Linked DNA regions of Homo sapiens: region 1 is linked to region 2. Evidence: promoter capture Hi-C in human tissues and cell types (Jung and others, 2019). All regions are on one chromosome and are shown on one strand. The core of a region is centred on a gene start or on the middle of the fragment in contact, and the rest is flanking DNA. Distances in the headings are between cores, read along the strand shown. Region 1 overlaps STAT3 (signal transducer and activator of transcription 3). Region 2 holds the start of DHX58 (DExH-box helicase 58).

Region 1 (5,238 bases), core at 778-3,277, 200 kb after region 2:
CAGGGATTATATAAATTACCAGCCTGAAGGAAGCTGAATGCTTAAAGCACCAAGGAGGCTGTTAACTGAAGTTTCTTTTTTTTTTTTTTTTTTTTGAGACAGAGTCTCAGACTGTCGCCCAGGATGGAGTGCAGTGTGCAGTGGTGCAATTTTGGCTCACTGCAACCTCCGCCTCTCAGGTTCAAGCGATTCTCCTGCCTCAGCCTCCCGAGTAGCTGGGACTACAGGCGCCCACCACCACACCCAGCTAATTTTTTGTACTTTTAGTAGAGACGGGGTTTCACCGTGTTAGCCAGGATGGTCTTGATCTCCTGACCTTATGATCCGCCTCGGCCTCCCAAAGTGCTGGGATTACAGGCGTGAGCCACCATGCCCGGCTGCTTAAGTTTCTTAAATACAGAAAGGCTATGCTGATACAGTGTTTTTTGCCCTTTAATTGTTATTATTTCTTAATTTAAAAAGAAACCTAGGGCTTAGATAGTCCTATCTTCTATTTGGATGTCAGCAAGGTTAAAAAGTGCAATGCCAGGAGTATGTAGCTATAGGTGGCCTGTGGCATTTGCTTACAGAAACAGGCAGAAGGATGCCGCAGGCACCAGGAGGCACTTGTCTAAGAACAACAACAACAATAACAAAAAGCTGCTGAGAAAGGAGGGCAGGGGAACAAAACAACACAAGACATTTCCTTTTTCTCCCTCTAGCCACCCCCCGCCACATCCCCTGATCATGGGTCTCAGAGAACACATCCTTATTTGCATTTAGATAAAAGCAGATCACCCACATTCACTCATTTCTCTATTTTTAAAAGTGCCCAGATTGCTCAAAGATAGCAGAAGTAGGAGATTAAAAAAAATCTGGAACCACAAAGTTAGTAGTTTCAGATGATCTGGGGTTTGGCTGTGTGAGGGGTGGCAGAATGCAGGTAGGCGCCTCAGTCGTATCTTTCTGCAGCTTCCGTTCTCAGCTCCTCACATGGGGGAGGTAGCGCACTCCGAGGTCAACTCCATGTCAAAGGTGAGGGACTCTGGAGGGACAGACAGGGAAAACTAGTTCAGTTGTCCACCCTCTGCAACTGGCAGGCCACGCCCCCAGCCCTTCAGAGGACAGGGCCCAGGCTACCACTGCTATCCAATCTCCTGCCCCTTAAGGCCCAGGGATGGTCAGAAAAGCCAGATTTACCCTCCTCCCTGGAGGACCCTGCCTCGGGAAGGGTCCTTTCTCATTCCCACCTTAACTGATTCCCAGAGCTCCATGTTTACAGAAGCTCTAAGGCTGTCCTGAGATCTTCTGCCCTTGATCTACTGTTTAATTCAGGAGCCCCGAGACACACGTGGCCACCAAGCATTTGAGATTTGGTTTGTCCAAACTGAGCTGTGCTGTGGCTGTCAAAAGCCCACTGGATTTTAAAGGCTTAGTATGAAAAAAAAGAATAAAAAAAGGTCTCAACTTTTTCTTTTTAGTTTAGTTTTGTTTATTTGAGATGGAGTCTCACTCTGTCGCCCAGGCTGGAGTGCAGTGGCACGATCTCTGCTCACTGCAACCTCCACCTCCCAGGCTCAAGCGATCCTCCCACCTCAGCTTCTTGAGTAGCTGGGATTACAGGTATGCGCCACCATGCCCAGCTAATTTTTATATTTTAGAGATTTTGGTCAGACTGGTCTCGAACTCCTGACCTCAAGTGATCCACCCACCTCGGCCTCCCAAAGTGCTGGGATTACAGGCATGAGCCACTCACCCAGCCTCAACTTTTTCTGAAATGTTAAATTGAGAGTATGTTGGATTTAGTGGGTTAAATAAAATATATTGTAAAAATTAAGTTCGTCTATTTCCAGTGTGGCTGCTAGAAGATTTATACTCACACATGTGGCATTCATACCATCTCTTTTGGAAAGCAAAGCTCTAGAATCTCCTACCATTCCGAGTGACCAGCTCTCGGTGTGTACATGTGAGAGCATCACACAAAGGGGACCAACTTCCCTTATAGGGACAAAGTCTGTCAACCAAATACTCACCAAACTGCCCTCCTGCTGAGGGTTCAGCACCTTCACCATTATTTCCAAACTGCATCAATGAATCTAAAGTGCGGGGGGACATCGGCAGGTCAATGGTATTGCTGCAGGTCGTTCTGTAGGAAATGGGGGGCAGCAGGAGGGGAAACGGGGGGTTGACAAGACACAATGGAAAAAAAAAAAAGAACAAAACACACACACACAAGCCATCAAACTCTGGTCTCCAACAGAAAAATAAAAGCTCAAGCTTTTTAAACACACAAGGTCACTTTGAGTACTAAACATAGCCCAGGGGCTTCCAACCTTTGGCAGATTAACTCTCACCCAGTGTCCCATTCCCAGGGATAACTGAGGATATTAGAAATGAAGGCAAAACGGGGAAAGGAAGCCACTTACGGTGTCACACAGATAAACTTGGTCTTCAGGTATGGGGCAGCGCCTGGGAAGAAGAAAACCAGTTTTCTTACTGACTGTGACTTCGCATTCAGTAAGCAGAGCTGGAGGAAGCCATCTGCCTCGGCAGGACTGATTTGAAACTCACTCATCCTCATGCCAAGATTGTCTGGAAAGCTCCATCTGCCCCTCAGGGTTGTCTGCCCTCATTTATACTATTTGATCTCCCAGGCACTAGCAGCTGTGAACTTCAGTTCTTTGCACAAAGCTGTCCTGAGCTGCAGAGACTTTTCAGCATAACCTTTTCCCACCTGACCCTAGACTAATGCCACCTTGTGTCCCTTCTTTCCCTAGATTATGTAAAAGTTTAACAGCCTCCACGTGGTCTGAGCATTCTATTCCGGCCTGGTCATATCTCTTAGATAACTTCTCTGCATGCAGGAACCGAGCCTGTGTAGTCTTTGCATGGTGTCCAGCCTAAATACCAATATCACCAAGTCTTTAAAGAACATGGAGACTGCTAATGCTTGTGGTTCCAAAGCCAAAGGTTATATCTCTTATTCCTACCAGCACTAATCTGGCCTCTACCACATTTTTGGATGAGGGCATGAGTAACTTTCTAGTTGGATAAATACGTCAATCAAAAAGCACCAAAGAGAATGTGACTTTGTAAGGCAGTACAATTGCTTCAACTAGAAGACCGGAGACCTGGGTCCAGGTACATCTTCAATAGCTAAGAGACCTGGAGCAAGGCATGGTCTCTCTCTTTTGTTGCTGTTGTTCTTATTGTTTTGAGACAGAGTCTCACTCTGTTGCCCAGGCTCAAGTGCAGTGGCACAATCTCGGTTACCGCAACCTCCTACTCCCAGGTCAAAACGATTCTCCTGCCTTAGGCTCCCAAGCAGCTGGGACTACAGGTGGCACCACCATGCCTGGCTAATTTTTGTCTTTTTTTTTTTTGAGACGGAGTCTTGCTCTCTTTCGCCCAGGTTGGAGTGCAGTAGCGCCATCTTGGCTCTCTACAACCTCTGCCTCCAGGGTTCAAGTGATTCTCCTTCATCAGCCTCCTGAGTAGCTGGATTACAGGCATCTGCCACCATGCCTAGCTAATTTTTTTTTTGTAATTTTAGTAGAGATGAGGTTTCACCATGTTGGCCAGGCTGGTCTTGAACTCCTGACCTCAGGTGATCCATCTGCCTCACCCTCCCAAAGTGCTGGATTACAAGTATGAGCTATCATGCCCAGCCTTGGCCACAATGCCCAGCCCATATTCTCTTTTATGTATAAAATAAGAGGGAGGGGGAAGACAAGGTGCCAATTTTCTATGAGCTTTGTCATTTATAATTCTTGTTCTACAGTTAGAAATGCGTTGACGGGAATAAAATGAATTTTAGATGCTGAATGCTTACACCAAGAGGTCAAGGAACCTTGGGGATACTGGCATGAAATCTGGGGAATTCAGGTGAACAAACCATTGAGAAGGCATGGGGCAGGGTGAGGTGGGCTGAGAACAGCACGGTCATAAAACATGAGGCTTAGACAGAACCTGAGGGATCAGAGAGCATGATGACCATGTGAAAGAAGGCACTGCAGAGTGGCTCTTGGGCTGCCATCTGAGTTTACTTTGGGCCAAGAAACTGATCAATTCAGTGCAGAATTCAAAGGAGCTACTGAGGCAAGACTCTAGTGTCTTATAAATCCAACTGTTTTGGCCCAGCCCTTAGGGAGCTGACACCCTAGACAGAAAAGGATTTAATTCTCCAGCATTCAAGATAGCTGAGGCCAGGCACAGTGGCTCATGCCTGTAATCCCTGCACTTTGGGAGGCTGAAGCAGGTGGATCACTTGAGGCCAGGAGTTCAAGACCAGCCTCACCAACATGGGGAAACCCTGTCTTTAATGAAATTACAAAAATAGCTGGGCGTGGTGGCACGCCTGTAATCCCAGCTACTCAGGAGGCTGAGACAGGAGAATCACTTGAACCTGGGAGGCAGAGGCTGAAGTGAGGTGAGATCGCACCACTGCACTCCAGCCTGGGTGACAGAGTGACAGACTGTCAAAACAAAACAAAAACAAAAACAAGGCTGGGCACTGTGGCTCACACCTATAATCCCAGCACTTTGGGAGGCCCAGGCGGGAAGATCACTTGAGGTCAGGGGTTCGAGACCAGCCTGGCCAACAGGGTGAAACCCGGTCTCTACTAAAAATCCAAAAATTAGCCAGGCATAGTGGTGCATGTCTGTAATCCCAGCTACTCAGGAGGCTGAGGTATGAGAATCTCTTGAACCTGGGAGGCAGAGGTTTCAGTGAAGCAAGATCGCGCCACTGCACTCCAGTCTGGACGATAGAGCGAGACTCAGGCTCAAAAAAAAAAAAAAAAAAAAAAAAAAAGCTGAGAAAAATGACTTCATTGTGTGGCTTTGTACAAGATTGTAAATGTACTTTATCTAATTTGTAAGTGGCTCCGAACCTCTCCCTCAAGCCATAAGGAAATGCTATGTGGGCTTCCAGTAGAGAAGGAAGAGAGAAGAGTCTTGGGAGGATAATCTAACCTGAGACCCTCATACCATAATACTCTTGTGATGGAAATAGAGAGGAAATGGTCACATGCTCATCGTCCTGAAGGCACCCATTTTAAAATAACACAGGGACACCCCCACACCCGTCACCACACTCACATGGAGTCCCTCAGGGCACACTCCTCTCAGCAAGGCAAGGCAAATTACTCAAGTAATTAGTTCCTTTCTCCTGATGAGTGCCTGGCCCCTGAGGAAACGCTGACATCGCTGGGCAGGAAAGGACCTGGCCTCCCAGCCCACAGGAAGGGCGATGGTAAT
Region 2 (5,319 bases), core at 1,897-4,396:
GGAGTTGGAGAGGCAGATAATAAACCAGTAAAAGAATAATAGAACCGGCCAGGCATGGTGGCTCACACCTGTAATCCCAGCACTTTGGGAGGCCAAGGCGGGCGGGTCACCTGAGGTCAGGAGTTTGAGACAGCCTGGCCAACGTGGTGAAACCCCACCTCTACTAAAAATACAAAAATTAGCCAGGCATGGTGGCACGCGCCTGTAGTCTCAGCTACTCGGGAGGCTGAGACAGAAGAATCACTTGAACCCGGGAGGTGGAGGTTGCAGTGAGCCAAGATCGTGCCACTGCACTCCAGCCTGGGTAACAGAGACTCCGTCTCAAAAAAAAAAAAAGAGGCTGGGCACAGTGGCTCACGCCTGTAATCCCAGCACTATGGGAGGCCAAGGCAGGTGAATCACGAGGTCAGGAGTTCGAGACCAGCATGGCCAACACGGTGAAACCCCGTCTCTACTAAAAATACAAAAAATTAGCTGGGCATAGTGGTGGGTGCCTGTAATCCCAGCTACTCGGGAGGCTGAGGCAGGAGAATCGCTTGAACCTGGGAGGCGGAGGTTGCAGGGAGCCGAAATCATGCCACTGCCCTCCAGCCTGGGCGACAGAGTGAGACTCCATCTCAAAAAAAAAAAAAAAAAAGAAAACAATAAAACCTTGCAGAGCGCATTAACAAGCTCTGAAGAGGATAGCACTGGATGATATGACAGAGAGCAGAGATCAGGGAGGACTTTCAAGAGGTGGCATTAAGCTGTTCAATGAATGACAAGGAGGAGGCAGCAGGAAAAGTTCAAAGGGAAGCGCATTCTAGGCAAAAGAAATGGTAAATGCAAAGGTCCCCGAGATGGAACAAGCCCTACATGTTCAACATGCAGAAGGCAGGCCAGTGTAACTGTAGGATGAGCTACAACAGGGAGGGCGCAGGAAATGAGGTGGAGAGGTAGATCACGTGGAACTTTGTAAACCACAGTAGAGTCGGGAGTTAATTCTTTGTACCATAAGAAACCATTGGAGGCTGGGTCTTAGGTGAGGAAGGGGCCAGACCCTGCCATGGAGAGCCTGGTAGGGCTGGTGGGGACGGGGTAGTGGCAGGGCAGGCAGGGAGGGAGGGAAGTCCCTGGTGGGTCTGGCAGTGGGAGGCCCACAGGGGCCAGGCTGACCTGCAGGACGTGGTTGATGGCCCCATCGAGTTTGGAGGCCCCGCCAGTGCCTGGGGAGGCTGTGAGACCCAGCACCTGGGGTAGCGGCTGTGCCCTCTGGAGTTTAAGTTCTAGGTACTGGCTCATGATGACGTTGTAGACGGTGTCCTTGTGCGTGTGGTGGCACTCATCCACCACGATCAGGGAGAAGACTGAGGGCACAGGGGGGAAGGCTGTGACCTATGTTTGCAAAGCCCTTCCTCCCATCAGCTTTCAAGTAGTCCCCACAATGATGTAAGAATTCCTTCTTCCCTTCACAACCTGCAGCTGGTCCCAGGATGAGGAGCCAGGCAGGGAAGACTTCTTTCCATTTCACAGATTAGTAAACCGAGGCTCAGCTGGGGAAGGGACTGGCCTAAGATCCTACACGATAGCCCGGCCTGTTTCTACTAGAGTGCCTGCAGGGGTTTTGTGAACAGGCAACCCCTCACTCCCACTAAAACTCCCAACACCTTGACTCCAGGAGGTGCCCTGGGGTTGGCGAAAGGAGGTACCCCAGATGCGTATCTTTTTCCTCCCGGCCATGGCCCTCACCAGTGAGCTCCACGTGCTCCTCCTCCTCGGGGCTGGTCAGTGCCATCTGCAGAAGCTCTGCTGTGCAGATGAGCAGGTCATGGCACCGGGCCAGGTGGCCAAAGCCAGCACGTGGTCCCATGTCCCCACTCAGGGTTGTCACGGTCCAGCGTCCATCCAGCATGCGCCTGAACTCTTCACCATGCTGGGTCACCAGGTGCACCTGGGGGTGGAGAATGAGCTGGGAAAAGAGAGCTGAATCTGGGGCCAGGGGTAGGGAGGCGGTAAGGTGACCCGCAGGACATGGCTGGGTACTGAGCCAGGGTGGAAAGACAGGTGAGCTTAGCGATGGCCACAGCAGCTTTGGAGTTCTGGTGGGGACTGGGAGATGCCTGAAGAGCTAAGACCCTGCTTGGTGGTGGGAGAGCGGGGTAGGGACAGACCACTCACCCTGTTGACCAATACAACCACCTTGGCTCCATCCACAGTCTCTAGGTGCCGCTTGGCCACATAAGCAGCCGCCCGGGTCTTCCCGGCACCCGTGGGCAGCCAGATGATGATATTCTTGCCCTCCAGGGCAGGCATGATCACCTCCCATTGGTAGGACCGAAGCTCCATTCTGGGAATGGCAGGGGACTCAGACCCACCGACTCCTCCACCCCTCCCAACTCCTGGCCAGACCAGTCAGTACAGAGACCTCCCTTTGCCCAGGACTCCACCCCACTTGAGGGAGGTGGGGCAGGACTCCCTCAGAACCCATCAGGACCCTGCTCTGCCCAAAAGGGGGAGGCGGGAGTAACACAGGCTACACCTGCCCCCTGCCCAGCCCAGGACTCACCTGCTCTAGTAGGTAGGTCTGCCCAGGGCAGTCCCACTTAACTCAGCCTGGTGCCACTCTGCTCAGCTCAGAGACCCAAGATGGAAACTGAAACTGAGGGAAGGAGCCAGCTGAGCCGACTTAGGAATCTCCCATCCCCGCCCCAGGAAAAAGAACCAAGAGAAAAGAACCGTTTGTGCTAACAGTCATCGCCAACTGCCGTGAGTACAAACTCCGGTTAAGTACTGCTGCTGCGCCAGCGCCCTGGCAGGCATGATCACCTCCCATTGGTAGGGCCACAGCTCCATTCTGGGAATGGCAGGGGACTCAGACCCACTGGGCCCTCCACTCATCCCAACTCCTGGCCAGAGCAGTCGGTACAGAGACCTCCCTTTGCCCAGGACTCCACCCCACTTGAGGGAGGTGGGGGGGGGGACACCCTCAAAACTCATCAGAAGCCTGCTGTGGCCAAAAGGTGGGGGTGGGGGGGGGTGGGAGTAACACAGGCTACACCTGCGCCTTGCCCAGCCTGGGTCTCGCCTGCACCACCACGTAGGCCTGCCCAAGGCGGCCCTGCTTAGCTCAGCCTGGTGCCGCTGTGCTCAGCGCAGAGAGCAGAAATCAGAAATGGAAACTGAAACTGAGGGGAGGAGCCAGCTGAGCCGACTTACGAATCTCCTATCCCTGCCCCAAGAAAAAGAACCACGTGTGCTAACAGGGAAGCACTCTTTCAGTGCTACAGGATCCTCTACGCTCTGGCCCTTCTGCAGTCAGTTGTAACCACATCCACCCAGGTTAAGGTGAAGGCAGGAGGTTCTGACCCCTGCTGCCCTGGCATCTGGATCAGGAGCAGCCTGGAGGAGGGAGAGGTGGGGGGCTGCAGGCAGGTAGGACCCATCACCCCAGGAGCACAGGACCAGGCCTGAGGCTTGCTGGGGAGAGCAGCCTCCAGTTTGCAAGAGGTCCCTGGGGGCCAAGGTGAGCCTGCTAAGGCTGGGACTACACCAAAGAAACAATCACACAGAGAAATAAAAAGCTTTATTATTCCCTCTAAGGGATTAATGCCAGGGAATGAATGGTCCCCATACCCCCCACCCCTGGGGGAGACTGACAGAACAGTGCTGGACAAGGCATGGCCCCCTTCAGTTTGGGCTGAACTTCCAACCCCTGAAGCCATCACTCAAGCTAAAATGAGCAGTTCTGGTCCTCAGGGAAACAGCCACCTGGGCCAGGCCCAGGAATCCAAGCCTCCAAAGCTCTTGGGGACCAGGCCTGGGGGCCACCACGGCTGGGCAAGGTTCATCCCTGGCCACCAGCTACTCTAGAGGGGCTGGGCCCCAACCCAGGAGACCTCTCACACACAGTGAAGGCTGGGACAGAGCTGCACGCTTGGGGGTGCCTGAAGGTCCAGAAAGAGCTGCAGGATCGGGTCCGGAGGACCCTTGGCTGGAGTGTCTCAAGCTGAGTCGGGTCCGTGGGGCCAGGGCACCCCCTAAGGATCAGATCAGAATCCGAGGTGGAGACATTCCAGGTCAGGGCTGCGGCCCAAAGATGGGCCTACTTGTCAATGAGGCCTCCCTCCTTGAGCTTGAAGTAGAAGAACTTCTCCAGGGCGCTGGCACAGCGGCAGTACTCGCTGTCCGGGGGGTTGTACTCGCGACAGTTGGCGATGACCCGCTGCAGGTCGGCCACAAAGAGCTTCCGGGTCACGTAGTAGCGGCTTCGCAGCCGCTCAGTCATGGTCTTCAGGTCTGGGGCAGCAGGAGACGGAGCACAGCTTTAAGAGGCTGAAGACCACGGCAGGGCTGTCCACCAGGGTGGGCCCCCTGGGGCTGCAGGGCGCAGTGAGGGCAGGAGCAGGTGTGGGGACAGAAGAGGAGGGAAGGGGATGGAATGGAAGGTCCTCACCAATGGGGAAGCGGATGACCTCGTAGTAGTCAGGGGCCTCCGACTTCTTCACAGGCTCCATGAAGGGCCAGGCACTGGGGTGAGACTGGAGAGAAGAGCCGGGCTGGGGACAGCCCTGCTGCGCCCACGCCAGCCCGAGACCACTACCCACCCCACACTGCATCAAGAGGCCACAGCCATTGGTGCAGGGGCCCTGGAAAGGAAACCTGGTCTCCCCACCTTGATTTGGGCCAGCAGGTTTTTGAGGGTTGTGTAGAGCTGGTCGGGGTCCTTCAGCTCCTTCCTGGGGCGAGAGACACCAAGTCTGAGGCTCCAAGTCCCTCTGCCCCACCCCCAACCCGGCTCCTTTGACACTCACCCCTTCTCCTTCCCCAATGGCTTCCAGCCTGTCTCTCCTGCAAAGTGGGAAGTGGGAGAATGTCTCTAAGAATGCCAGTCCACACCCCAAGCATCGTGCCCCCACTACCCTGCAACTGAGACCCCTGCTTACGAATGCCAGGAACGCTCTCCACAGGGATCTGCCTCACGCCCTCCTTGAAGCAGCTGAGCCCCGGGTAGACCTTGCGGATCTGGGCCTGTTTGCGCTCAATCAGCTTCTTGATGATCTGAGGGAAGGAAGGGACTGAGGGGCCAACTCCAGCCCCAACAACAACCCCTCCCAGGGCCACAGTCGGAGCCACTGGCTGCACCCACCCAGCTGCAACGCCACCTAATCCAGCACCTCCCCTCATAACTTCCCCAAGGGAGCAGAGCAAGAGCCAAGATCCTGGCCTGCCCCTCCTCACTCACACACATATATGCATGTAGACGTAGAACAGGTCTACACACGTGTGCTCGCCCTCTGCATGCCCATTCATGAAAAATCCCACAGATGCGCATGTGTGCAC

What was found. Contacts are between HindIII fragments. The study calls those that stand out against the background at their distance.
Region 1: a contact is called between a fragment that was not itself captured here and the fragment with the promoter of DHX58 in region 2, in 2 of the 25 tissues and cell types used here (lymphoblastoid cells and pancreas).

The regions. Positions count from the first base shown.
Region 1 is chr17:42,314,777-42,320,014 of GRCh38, forward strand. STAT3 (signal transducer and activator of transcription 3) reads right to left here. Exons shown (of 24, transcript NM_139276.3): 22 at 2,406-2,448; 23 at 2,013-2,125; 24 at 1-1,024. The coding sequence ends at 969. Among named protein-coding and RNA genes, the nearest start is that of STAT5A, 29 kb to the left of the region's middle. The HindIII fragment of the contact is 8,739 bases long and covers 1-5,238 here.
Region 2 is chr17:42,109,568-42,114,886 of GRCh38, forward strand. DHX58 (DExH-box helicase 58) reads right to left here and starts at 3,147. Exons shown (of 14, transcript NM_024119.3): 1 at 3,038-3,147; 2 at 2,546-2,638; 3 at 2,158-2,326; 4 at 1,729-1,930; 5 at 1,156-1,346. The coding sequence starts at 2,325. It overlaps KAT2A (lysine acetyltransferase 2A), which reads right to left. Exons shown (of 18, transcript NM_021078.3): 14 at 4,923-5,037; 15 at 4,791-4,827; 16 at 4,652-4,715; 17 at 4,433-4,517; 18 at 3,544-4,275. The coding sequence ends at 4,082. RefSeq lists enhancers at 2,655-2,754, 2,995-3,514. The HindIII fragment of the contact is 12,117 bases long and covers 1-5,319 here.